Regions from separate parts of the Homo sapiens genome. Here region 1 is linked to region 2. Evidence: promoter capture Hi-C in 16 types of primary human blood cells and fetal thymus (Javierre and others, 2016). All regions are on one chromosome and are shown on one strand. The core of a region is centred on a gene start or on the middle of the fragment in contact, and the rest is flanking DNA. Distances in the headings are between cores, read along the strand shown.

The links. Contacts are between HindIII fragments. The CHiCAGO score rates a contact against its expected background, and 5 or more counts as called.
Region 1: a contact is called between the fragment with the promoter of KRT5 here and the fragment with the promoter of KRT73 in region 2, in 1 of 17 cell types (neutrophils). The highest score is 6.2, in neutrophils.

Annotation. Positions count from the first base shown.
Region 1 is chr12:52,519,144-52,525,344 of GRCh38, reverse strand. It overlaps KRT5 (keratin 5), which reads left to right and starts at 4,951. Exons shown (of 9, transcript NM_000424.4): 1 at 4,951-5,603; 2 at 6,185-6,201. The coding sequence starts at 5,049. RefSeq lists enhancers at 2,079-3,044, 5,864-6,201. The HindIII fragment of the contact is 4,587 bases long and covers 1,503-6,089 here.
Region 2 is chr12:52,617,253-52,622,901 of GRCh38, reverse strand. It overlaps KRT73 (keratin 73), which reads left to right and starts at 4,343. Exons shown (of 9, transcript NM_175068.3): 1 at 4,343-4,824. The coding sequence starts at 4,378. The HindIII fragment of the contact is 4,368 bases long and covers 1,279-5,646 here.

The sequences.
Region 1 (6,201 bases), core at 3,702-6,201, 98 kb after region 2:
ACAAACTTGGGGAGGGGGGCAGCTGTAGCGTCTCCTCTGCCTCCCCGTTCCCAGTTGTGGCTACTGGTGAGAGAACAGAAAGTAGCAGGGAGAAATGGAACAGTGGGTGAGTTGGGGATGTCAGCAAGCTTCCTTCTGCACCTCTGATGCTGCAGGGATACAACCTGGTGTAAATGAGTCATGTCTCTGCCTCTCCACTGAAGAGGGAGGCTGCAAATCCCCAGAGTATGGGACACACTGACACCTACATTGGACAGCCAAGCTGAGGAAGTGCTAAGAGCCCTTCTTTGCATGCTCTAGTTTCATATTCATATATGTAAAGTGTGCAGGGCAGTGCCTGGCACATGGTCACTCCTACGTAAGTGTTTATTTAAAAAATAAAACCACCCTCTATGAGAAAGCAAAGCGCAGAGGATTTTGCTGTATATCCTTTTTTAGTCCCTCTGACTAATTAAAGTATTTGTTGATTTCCAGCCCATAGTTTCAATCAACCAAGGGGGATTTTCAAAGAGTTTGGTGTGCCATGAGCAAAACACCTTTCATACGAGGGAAGAACATTCCTCAGACTTGCAGGGGCCTGCTGGAGGGAAGCGGAGGGCTCTGCTCTGCACCCTCTCCTGCCAGGGCCAATCGGCTGCTGAATCTAAGGGATGGGGGCCAAGGCTGCTCCCCACAGCCCCCTGCAGGCCTGCCCCTCCCTTCCTGCTCAGCCCCAGCCAGCTCAAAATTAAAATTCCAGCTTGCATGGCCCCTCCAATGAGCCCAGGCCCCTCCCTTCTCTCCCAGCTGCACTGGACAAAACTATGCAGTGAGAGGTTAGGCAACTTGCTCAGGGTCCCAGACCCATCCAAGGACTGGGTCAGGACCAACACATGGTCTGGAGTGGTGCCACATGCTTTTGCACCTATGCTGTGACCCACAATGTGTGCGAAGCCCGTGCACAAGAAAAACTCAACTCCAGGGGGTAACTTGTCACTATGACCTCAATAATGGCAGCAGGGACTCACCTCCAAAGGCCCTCTGAGCCAAGGCTGAGCAGTTGCTTTATGTCTGGACATTTGCCTTTCTACCTAGTCCGGTTTTCAGACTGGGGTCTGAAAGCCCTAGAGACATTGGGCTGTAGGAGGGAGGGGGTGGTGTGTCCAGCTCTGCAGATCCAGAGTGGCCACTCCCCTCAGGGCCCTGTGATTCTGAGAATCTAGCTAGGACCAGAGCTGGGACCCAGGTTGGGATGGGGGCAAGATTCCGCTGGCTTTGGGTGGAGGCAGGAAAATTCTTCCCTCAATTCCCCCTGAGGCTAGGGCTTTGTGAAGAGCTATCTTGGGCTGGCCCGCTGTTCCATCTGCCCTTCCCCATCCTGCGAATCTGGCTGCAGGCTCCCTGATGGGGCTGCCAACCATAGCCCAATGAATAGGGTGACTCACACCTCAACTATTGCTCCCCACTTTTTGTGCTGAACAAGCGTGAGGTGGAAGGGCTGCAAAGTTGAGGCCACTAAAGCTTTCTTTCTCTCCTGGAGGGGCCTGGGGGCTGGGGTGGCACGTGCAGGCTACTTGTTAGTGGGCTCAGATGCAGAACACCCTCAGAATAAGGGTGAGGGAAGAAGAAGGATGGAGGGAAGCCTAAGGAATAAAGAATCCTAAATGCTAGATTAAATCCTAAATCCTAAACACAGAGCATACCCAGTGTGAAGGGGACAACAGACTCATCCTGTAGACACGGACTGAGAGACAAAATCAGATGGACAAGACTCTGAGACTCAGCATAGGGCTGGAGGATTCACAGAAATATATGTGAATATATATAATGTATATACATTCTGTTATACATAGGTTGGTGTAGATATAGGTTGGTGCAAAAGCAATTGAGGTTCTTGCCATTGTGGGCTTCACATAACAATCTGGGGAAGGAGCGGAGGAAGAGGATTTTCTGTCTGTCAATTCACTCCAAAAAATATCTGCAGAACACTTCCAGTGCCCAAGGCTGGGCTGAGGGTGTGGGCCATGCAGAGATGTTCCCTAACCTTGGAGACTGCCCTGCTGGGGGGGACTTAGAGGATATGTACAAATGCTGTTTTATGGAACATGTTCTATTTATCATGCTCTATTAAATGTATCTTCTACTAAAGCCCTACAGATTGGAGTGGAGGCTCTGAGGAGAAGGAATCCTGGGCTGGGATGGCAGGATTTGCCTAACCCTTGTTCCACGAATGGATACCACCCTCTCCCTGGTGTCTGTGAAGGGCTTCTCCATGTATGAAATGCTGACCAGGTCCTACATTCCCTGCACAGCTCTGCGAGAGAGGTCAGGGCAGCCAGCTTACTGTCCTTTCTCTGATGGGGAGAGCAGCAGGGCGGGCCCTGCACTGTCTTCTGCTGACAAGGAAAGCAGCACCCAGAGGAGAAGCTGAGCAACATGTCCCACCAAGCCTGGGAACTGCCTCTGTGGGGTGCCCAGCAGGAAAGCTCCCTGGTGAGCCTAACACAATCCCTCCCTTCCTGCCACAGTGAAATTCCAGGCTGGGGTGGGACTCTCCCGAGCTGCAGTGGTGCTGGTGCCTGGCTCCCCACCAGGAGCGGCTCCATTATTTATACCTGTCCAGGTCTGGCATTGAGGGAGGGGCTGCCCTGCCTGCTCATGGGAGGATTCCCACGAAGCTCGGATAGAAGAGTGCTGCTGCTTCTCCCATGGAGCACCCACATGCTCCCTGCTCCCATGGAGCACCACACACTCACCGTTGGTCCCTGGCACATGGATCTGAGCTTGGCACACTCTAGCAATCCTCAGACTAGCCAGAACGCATTCCTGCTCTGCCAAGTCCTCTTTCTTCACAACACAGCTGGGAGGAGAATGAATGGGGAGAAGAGAATGTCCCAGTGTCTCAGGAGGGGTGGGGCTTCCCTGAGGGCAGTGAGGTCTGTACCCGGGACCTGTGAGTGTATGTGGTGGTGGGGATATACCCCGATATCGATCTTTGAGTGGAGCAGGAGCATCCCACTACGAGTCCTCAGACACTTGCTTCAGGCTTGGATCTGTTCTGTTCTATCAGGAGCCGAGGGTCCCCTGGTATGTCTCAGGCCTCCAGGACACTCACATCTGTTCTCCAGAAAGCAACCAAATGTGAAAATGGTGAGCTCAGCACAATTCATCTCTGAGGGTCTCAGAAATGCTCCAGCCAGGGAGGCCACCCAAACCATTTTGCTCAAGACCTGTAAGACCGGCTCCGGCCATTGGTCTGTCTGCCGAGATTGACCTGTCAGCTGCTTGCTCATCGCAGCCCTCTGGTGAGAAGTCACTGTTTCAGCTGATCCTCAGCACCAGGGAGTCATTTTCCCACTGCCTTGGCTTCCTTGTGGCCAACCGCAGGCCCTGGTGAGAGATTCCTGAGCCTGGGTCTGGTCCTGTTCTTCTACTCTTGAGAATATAGCCCCTCCTCCCTGAGGCTTTGAAGCCATCCCCATTGCATTCCTACCTCCAGCCTCGGGCCACAGGGCGCCCCCGAAACTCTGAACAGCCCAAGCACTGTCCTGCCTGAGAGCCCTGCTTCTATTTGGGGGACGGCAGAGAGGTGGCCCCACTCAGATCTGCTGCCAAAAAGAGTGGGTGTGGTTTAGAACAGACGTGTGTTAAAACCTCATCAGAAACCCCCTTTCCTCCACCTGGTGCCACAACCCCCCAGACAAGTTTTGCAGAGGGGATCTCAAAGGGCCCTCCCTAAAGCAGCTGGCAGATTGTCATGCCAGCTGCCTGGGCCCACAGGCCTGCTCTGGCTAGCCTTTCTGGCAGGACAATCCATAGACTTAGAATCCCGTTTTCCATTGCCTTGGCCCTGAAGGAGGCTGTGGGCTACAGCATAGAGAAAGCAGAGCAAGTCCCGCTGCTTGGAACAGGGTGGTTCGCCGTTATAACAGGCCGTCAGACTCTCAACATGTTCCTGATGAGATTAGAAGCTCCTGCAGGTATGTGTTTGTGGCGGCCTTCAGCCTGTATCAACACATACGATGACTCATTTCTTCCCTAGTGGAATAGAGCTTGCTGGAACACACCTGGGGGGCTGGGGAACCGGCAGAGTAGCTACCCCCAAAGAGAGACGCTATAGCCCATGAGTCTCAGGGTTTTTTTTTAAGGGATTGCATGGGATCCCCGGGTTTCCTAAACCCCCCACAGAGTCCTGCCCAGGCCAAAGAGCAAGGAAAAGGTCAAAGGGCAGAAAAAATGCTGAGTTAGGAGGAGCTATGGAAGGATAAACCTGGCCTTAAAGAGGTCAAAGTGGTTTATAGGGGGCGCTGAGGGCTTCCCACATTCTCTGGCCTAAACCTTGCAGGCAGATCTGCCCAGTGGGCTCTGGGATAGCTGTGCCTTCCCTAAGAAAAAAATTGTGCAGAAAAGGATGAAACTCTATTTTCCCTCTAGCACATAACCAAGAATATAAGGCTACAGATTGCCTTTCCCAGAGGGGAAAACCCTGCAGCAACCTGCTGCCTGGAAAAGTGTAAGAGCAGATCACTGGGGAATCGTTTGCCCCCCGCTGATGGACAGCTTCCCCAAGCTGGAAGGGCAGGTGCTCAGCATGTACCGTACTGGGATGGTTGTCAATACTCCTGGTCCTGTAAGAGTCCCCAGGACACTGGCCATGCCAATGCCCCCTCAGTTCCTGGCATCCTTTTTGGGCTGCTCACAGCCCCCAGCCTCTATGGTGAAGACATACTTGCTAGCAGCGTCACCAACTTGCTGCCAAGAGATCAGTGCTGCAAGGCAAGGTTATTTCTAACTGAGCAGAGCCTGCCAGGAAGAAAGCGTTTGCACCCCACACCACTGTGCAGGTGTGACCGGTGAGCTCACAGCTGCCCCCCAGGCATGCCCAGCCCACTTAATCATTCACAGCTCGACAGCTCTCTCGCCCAGCCCAGTTCTGGAAGGGATAAAAAGGGGGCATCACCGTTCCTGGGTAACAGAGCCACCTTCTGCGTCCTGCTGAGCTCTGTTCTCTCCAGCACCTCCCAACCCACTAGTGCCTGGTTCTCTTGCTCCACCAGGAACAAGCCACCATGTCTCGCCAGTCAAGTGTGTCCTTCCGGAGCGGGGGCAGTCGTAGCTTCAGCACCGCCTCTGCCATCACCCCGTCTGTCTCCCGCACCAGCTTCACCTCCGTGTCCCGGTCCGGGGGTGGCGGTGGTGGTGGCTTCGGCAGGGTCAGCCTTGCGGGTGCTTGTGGAGTGGGTGGCTATGGCAGCCGGAGCCTCTACAACCTGGGGGGCTCCAAGAGGATATCCATCAGCACTAGTGGTGGCAGCTTCAGGAACCGGTTTGGTGCTGGTGCTGGAGGCGGCTATGGCTTTGGAGGTGGTGCCGGTAGTGGATTTGGTTTCGGCGGTGGAGCTGGTGGTGGCTTTGGGCTCGGTGGCGGAGCTGGCTTTGGAGGTGGCTTCGGTGGCCCTGGCTTTCCTGTCTGCCCTCCTGGAGGTATCCAAGAGGTCACTGTCAACCAGAGTCTCCTGACTCCCCTCAACCTGCAAATCGACCCCAGCATCCAGAGGGTGAGGACCGAGGAGCGCGAGCAGATCAAGACCCTCAACAATAAGTTTGCCTCCTTCATCGACAAGGTGAGCTACGATCTTTTGTAAAAAATCACTGTGGGTCTGAAATAAATGCCAAAGAGAGAGAAAGAAGGAAGATGTTTTGGCTTTGTGCAAATACTTTTATAGTTGTACAGTTCTGTGTTTCCGTTTGTTTCTGTGCCCTGGATTTGTGGACACGTTCTGAATTAGACTGGCAGCTGGGAAGGGAGAATTATTTCTTCCCATTCAGAGGTTAGCTCACAAGGGCCTCTTAACAACTGTTGGACAGAGAGATGAATTTCATGCCATATATAAAGGGGCTGACTGTACAGGAAGGTAGACAAGTGCATGGGCAGCAGCCTGAGTGCCTTTGCAGCCACCCCTGAGCCGGGACACACTCCAAGCAGCACTCCTAGTGCTTTCTGTGCCCTGGATAGGTGTCCTATCTCCCCCTGGAAAAGTGAGTTTGGGTGCCTCAGTCTGCACCTCCCCTCCTGGGGCCCAGGGCCAGGCACAGTGCACAGAAAAGCTTTAGAGGGACGGAAAGAGGTGGGAGGCACCTTAGTGAGTTGATCATAGAACATGAAATCCAAGTTTCTCTATCTTCAAACCCTGCTCCCCTCCAGGTGCGGTTCCTGGAGCA
Region 2 (5,649 bases), core at 3,094-5,593:
CTCTCTTCCAGTTCACTGATTCTTTCCTCTGGCCTTTTATTCTCCTGTTACGTGTATCCATTGAGTTTTTTATTTTGATTATTATATTTCTTAGTTCTAAAACTTCCATTTAAAGATCCAGAAGCTGATGGATGTGGGTCTGATCGCAATTCAGTGATGACTTGTTCATCCTCCACTTCCCTTCGCCCTCGTGTGGAAAGAGGAGCTGGGACTGTGGCAGGCAGCAAGGAGCGGAAGGGAGAGAAATGGGATAGAAGGCCTCATTTCTATATATTTATACACAACCCCAGGGAAGGCACAGAGACTTGTACTTGCACTGTTCATGCTGTCACTGCCTCTGGGCCCTCCCAGCACACGTGTGGTCTCTTCACCACTGCCCTCCAGTTCCGTGTCTCCTTCTTCTGCCCCCAGTTGCTGTCTCAGCTGCTCTCCCAGAGTTGGTTATTTTTAGTTTGGGGCAGTAGGCATATATGGGGAGGAGAGGGGGTTCTTCCCAGACTCACATCCCAGATGTTTATTCCATGTCCTCTTCTCCAATAAAACAAGCAAGTTGGGGATGTTTATAAAAAAATAAAAAATAAATAAAACTTTCATTTAGTTCTTCTGGTTTTTAAATTTCTTTGTTGAAACTGTCTAATTTGTCATCTATTTAGCATGTTCTTAGTTGTTCATTTAAGCATGTTTATTGTGGCTGCTTTGAAATCTTTGTCAGATAATTTTAACAACTTTGTCATCTAAGTATTGGCATCTATCAATCGTCTTTTTTTTTCATTCAATTTGAGGACTTCCTTGTTCTTGGCACAATGAGTGATTTTTTAAATAAACATTTGGACATTTTGGTACTATTATGAGATTCTGGATATTGTTTAAATCTTCTGTTTTGGCTGCCTTCTTCTGACATTGTCCTTGCAGGGGAAAGGGTGTGGATGCTACCTTGTTATTGCCAGGTGAGGGTGGAAGTCTGGGCTCCCCACATGGTCTCCACTGGTACCAAGTGGGTCAGGCACTTGTTACCTCCTGGTGGGGATGGAATCCCGGCTTCTTTCTTGGACTTCCCTGATTCCATCTAACTGCTGGGGGAGGGGGCAGTTGGGGCACCTCATTATAGCCTGGTGAGTGTGAAGGTCTAGGCCTCACACTCAGCTTTTGCTGATGTGGGTGTAGGTGAAACCATAGTATTTTCTGTGTGTTGAGATGGAATAGAGTGATTATTCTCTGTAAGTTTTCCATCTTGCTAGGCTGCCCCTTTCCTGATGATGTGGCTACAGAGATCAAGCTTTTGTTTAATCTTTAAAAATCTGAGCCTTTCCAGATTCCTGCCTTCTTCTGCCCCAAGTCTGGAATATAGGAGACAAATAGAAAACCTAGAGAAATAATCATCATGTCTTTCACTGGGTCCTGAGGTCCCTGTTGGTGTGCCTTCTTCTCTACGCTTCAGAGTCTTCTTATGTTTGTGAAGAAGGGAAAAGTATGTCTACTTCATCTTTCTAGTTGTGGAATATCCACATAGGGAATACTGATTTCACAATATTTATTTGATTGCCCCTGGGGGTGACAGAAAGTTGATTTCCTGCCTGTCTCTCTCTCTCTTTCTCTCTCCCCCCCCCCCCCTTTCTTTCTCTCTTTTCTGAAACCATCAGAAACTCTTGCCCTAGTGTCTGGGCAGAGGCTAATGGCAGGACAGCCCCACTGTGGGAAGTGGGGCTGACTTGGTAATTGGGTTCATCTGGCATTGAGTTTCCCCTGGTGAGGGCAATATAAGGGATGTGAAATATAAGGAGCTCACTGTGTGAAAACCCACTTAGAGGCATTTCAATGACAGGTGCTAGGGATACTGTTCTTAGGGAGAATGATTTCAAAGGGCACCTAAGAGTTTTTTAGCCTAGTCCATGACTGCCTGAGAGTCCTTTGCCACTGGAGTTCTGGGAAGTGAGTAGAGAGGACCAAAGGGAGGATAGGACCTGGATCTTGTCCTCAGGAAAATTTCTGGCCGTTAGGAAAGATTGACATACCTCCTGAACACAGGTAGAGACATCAAATTAGAAGAGACAATTGACATAATAGATGCTGTTGTTTGGACAACAAACAACATGTGGGAGGCTGGGAAGAGAGGTGTGATTGGATTAGGAAAGTGATCAGAGAAGGTTTCCGGAAGTGCCTCTGTGGCAGGTTCACAAGATGAGAAGGCCAGGGAGGGGAGGGGAAGTGAAAACCATAAGGAGAGGGGCTGTTTGCTCGTAAGCACATCCACGCCATACTGCAGAGTTGGCATTCACAGCATAAATGCCATTGGGGGTTATCTCAGGGCCTGTGACATGCAGCAATTTGTAGTTTTGCTGAGATGCAGGCCTGAATCACCTCCACCCCAGTGCTGGTGTGCTGAAATGAGCCAATTAGGGAGTGATTCTGGCTGGAATACTAAGCATTCTCATCACAATGCAGTTTTGTTGGTCTTCTTTGTGCCTTACAAAGAAACTTACAAAGGAATAGAAACTTTGGGTCAGGTGCGGTGGCTCACGCCTGTAATCCCAGCACTTCGAGAGACTGAGGCGGGCAGATCACCTGAGGTTGGGAGACCGAGACCAGCCTGACCAATATGGAGAAACCCCATTTCTACTAGAAATACAAAATTAGCCGGGCGTGGTGTTGCATCCCAGCTACTCAGGAGGCTGAGGCAGGAGAATCCCTTGAACCCAGGAAGTGGAGGTTGCGATGAGCCGAGATCATGCTATTGCACTCCAGCCTGGGCAAGAAGAGTGAAACGCCATCTCAAAAAAAAAAAAAAAAAAAAAGAAAAAAAGGAATAGAACTTCATGTTAGCTAAAAAAGATTAAAGGACTTCCAAGTGGCATTGCCTTTAGTGAAATTGAAGACATCAAAGAAAATGATTATTCTTAACTAGAAAACAACCATATTGTATAAAACAGAGGGGAGGTTGAATTTGGCAATTGCTTAGTACAACAATTTTAGAGGCATATCATAACCTCTATACAGAAATAGAAAAGAAGGATGGGCCAACTGTTCATTCAAGTACTCCAGCTAGTGAAATACTTGTGTTTTTATGGAGGAAATTCTATACTATGGATATATTTGGGATTTGGGATTTGGGAAACTCTTGGGTCACATACTTTGGCAATGTCAAGGATCCATGAAATTCAAATGTCTTCCCCTACCTCCCCATCTCCAAAATTGTGAGCTAGGTTTGGTCTTCATAATTCGGGACCCAAGAGCCTAGCACAGTACCTGGGAGAGAGTCAGCCCTCAAGAGAAGTCTGTTAAACGAATGGATAAATGAATGAACAAGTAGATGGCTGGCTGGCTGGTTGGACGGATAGATGGACGAATGAATAAGGCGGGCATAGCTCTGAATGTGGAGTCAGAAGACCAGCCAAGGGAGTCCTCAAGGCTGGGGCCTGTGCTTTTTGGGGGCATTTTCATTCTCTGGGATTCACACAAAGAAAGGACTCACTAAATGTTTGCTAAAGGAATGACATCCTCAATTATCTGAACCTTGGTTTCCCCATTTGTGTAATGTGGATCATCACCATTCCCCTCCATGCAGACTAAGTGGATTAAATGAGCTTCTTGTGTGAGGAGCTCTGTTACACTGTAAAGTGCTGCACCAGTGTCAGCCATCGTGAATGGTGCAATGACCATAATTTCAAGGTCAAGAGTCAGGGTAGTGGGATGGTAAAGGGAAAAAGAAGTCAGTGTGTGCAAAGGAAGGTGAGCAGGGCAGCCCGGCTGGCACAGAGGAGCAGGAGAGCTGCCTGGGAGGGCACAGCAGGGGGCTGGCAGCCAGAGGCTGGTCCTGGATTCCCAGTGTGCTCCTCTCCTATGGCCCTGGCCAGCCATCAAACCTGTCTCCAGGAACTCTGGGAAGCCAGGCAGCAGCAGCCTCTTCTTAACCACATAAAAGCAGCTCAGCCAGGGTCCCTGAAGCAGCCCATCTGATGCTGGCATGGTTGTGAGATTTCTAACAGATGACACTGTCAATTAAAGGTCTCCCCTCTGTACCCCTACAATCCCAGGCCCCACCACTCCCTGGGGAACAGCAATTGAGACTGCGACAAACCTCCCACCTAAGATCTTTCTATGGATAATGTGCCCATGCTAATTACACATGTTCATTAGATAAAACTCAAATTACATGAGCAAGACTTGCAAGACTAGCACTTTGGGAGTTTTCAAGTCATTTACCTGGTGTCTGATTTTGCTGGGAGAAAATGATTTCTTGCTTCCAGGCAAACTGAACCCACAAATTAGGCCCATGGCTCCCTCTTGAGTCCTATAAAGTGGGAGCCCAGGATCACAGGCTGGTGAACTGCATCTCAGCTAAGGGTCAGCATCTTATCCCCACTTTCTGGCCTCCCCACCATGAGCCGCCAATTCACCTACAAGTCGGGAGCTGCTGCCAAGGGGGGCTTCAGCGGCTGCTCCGCTGTGCTCTCAGGGGGCAGCTCATCCTCCTACCGAGCAGGGGGCAAAGGGCTCAGTGGAGGCTTCAGCAGTCGGAGCCTTTACAGCCTGGGGGGTGCCCGGAGCATCTCTTTCAATGTGGCCAGTGGCAGTGGGTGGGCAGGAGGCTATGGATTTGGCCGGGGCCGGGCCAGTGGCTTTGCTGGCAGCATGTTTGGCAGTGTGGCCTTGGGGTCCGTGTGTCCGTCGTTGTGCCCGCCCGGGGGTATCCATCAGGTCACCATCAACAAGAGCCTCCTGGCACCCCTGAACGTGGAGCTGGACCCTGAAATCCAGAAAGTGCGTGCCCAGGAGCGGGAGCAGATCAAGGTGCTGAACAACAAGTTCGCCTCCTTCATTGACAAGGTGGGTCTTTCTGGAGAAAGCTGATCTTGGGCTCCCCTTTTAAGGACTCAGGAGGGAGCCACTGCCCTAATTTGTGGTTCAATTTGCCTGAGAGCAAGAAATCATTTTCTCCCAGCAAAATCAGACACCAGGTAAACAACTTGAAAGCTCCCCAGGTGCTGGGCCCATAAGGCTTGCTCATGCCGTAGAGCCCCTTCCTTCCCCCGCCTTCATTGTCCTTGGGGTGCTCCCTGTCTGAAGCAGACGAAGGCAGGACACCTCCCCAGGATGCAGACATAGCCCAGGGAGGAACTGGACAAAGCCTGGACATCAGAGGCAAGGGACCAGGGTTGGAGGGGTGAGAGGAGCCAGCAGCCTAGCCCAGGAAGGTGTCCAGGAAGCAATGAGAGCGGTCTCTGAGTTGAGAAGTAGCAGAGTGACAGCCTGTGAGACTTAGAAGCTAGGCGAAGGAGATGCCCTTGACAGCCTGGGGCATCTAGACTGCCATGCGACCCAGCTGTTCCTCCTGTGTCCCCTGAAAGCTCAGACTCAGTCCGTAACACACACAGCCTATGAGGCAAGGCAGCTGGAGGTCACGGTGCCCTAGAGCAGTGGTTCTCAAAGGTGGCCCTGGAACCAGCAGCAGCAACGTCACCTGGACGCTTGTTAGAATGCACACTCTCAGGCTCCACCCCAGAGCAACTGAATCAGAGACTCTGCAGCAGGGCCCAGCACCCTGCATTTTAACAAGCTCTCCAGGTGATGCTGATGTACACTCAGGTTTGAGAATCACTGAGGAACAAAGTGGTAGGAAGGTATTGGGAAGCAGAGACTTCCTAAGCTTAG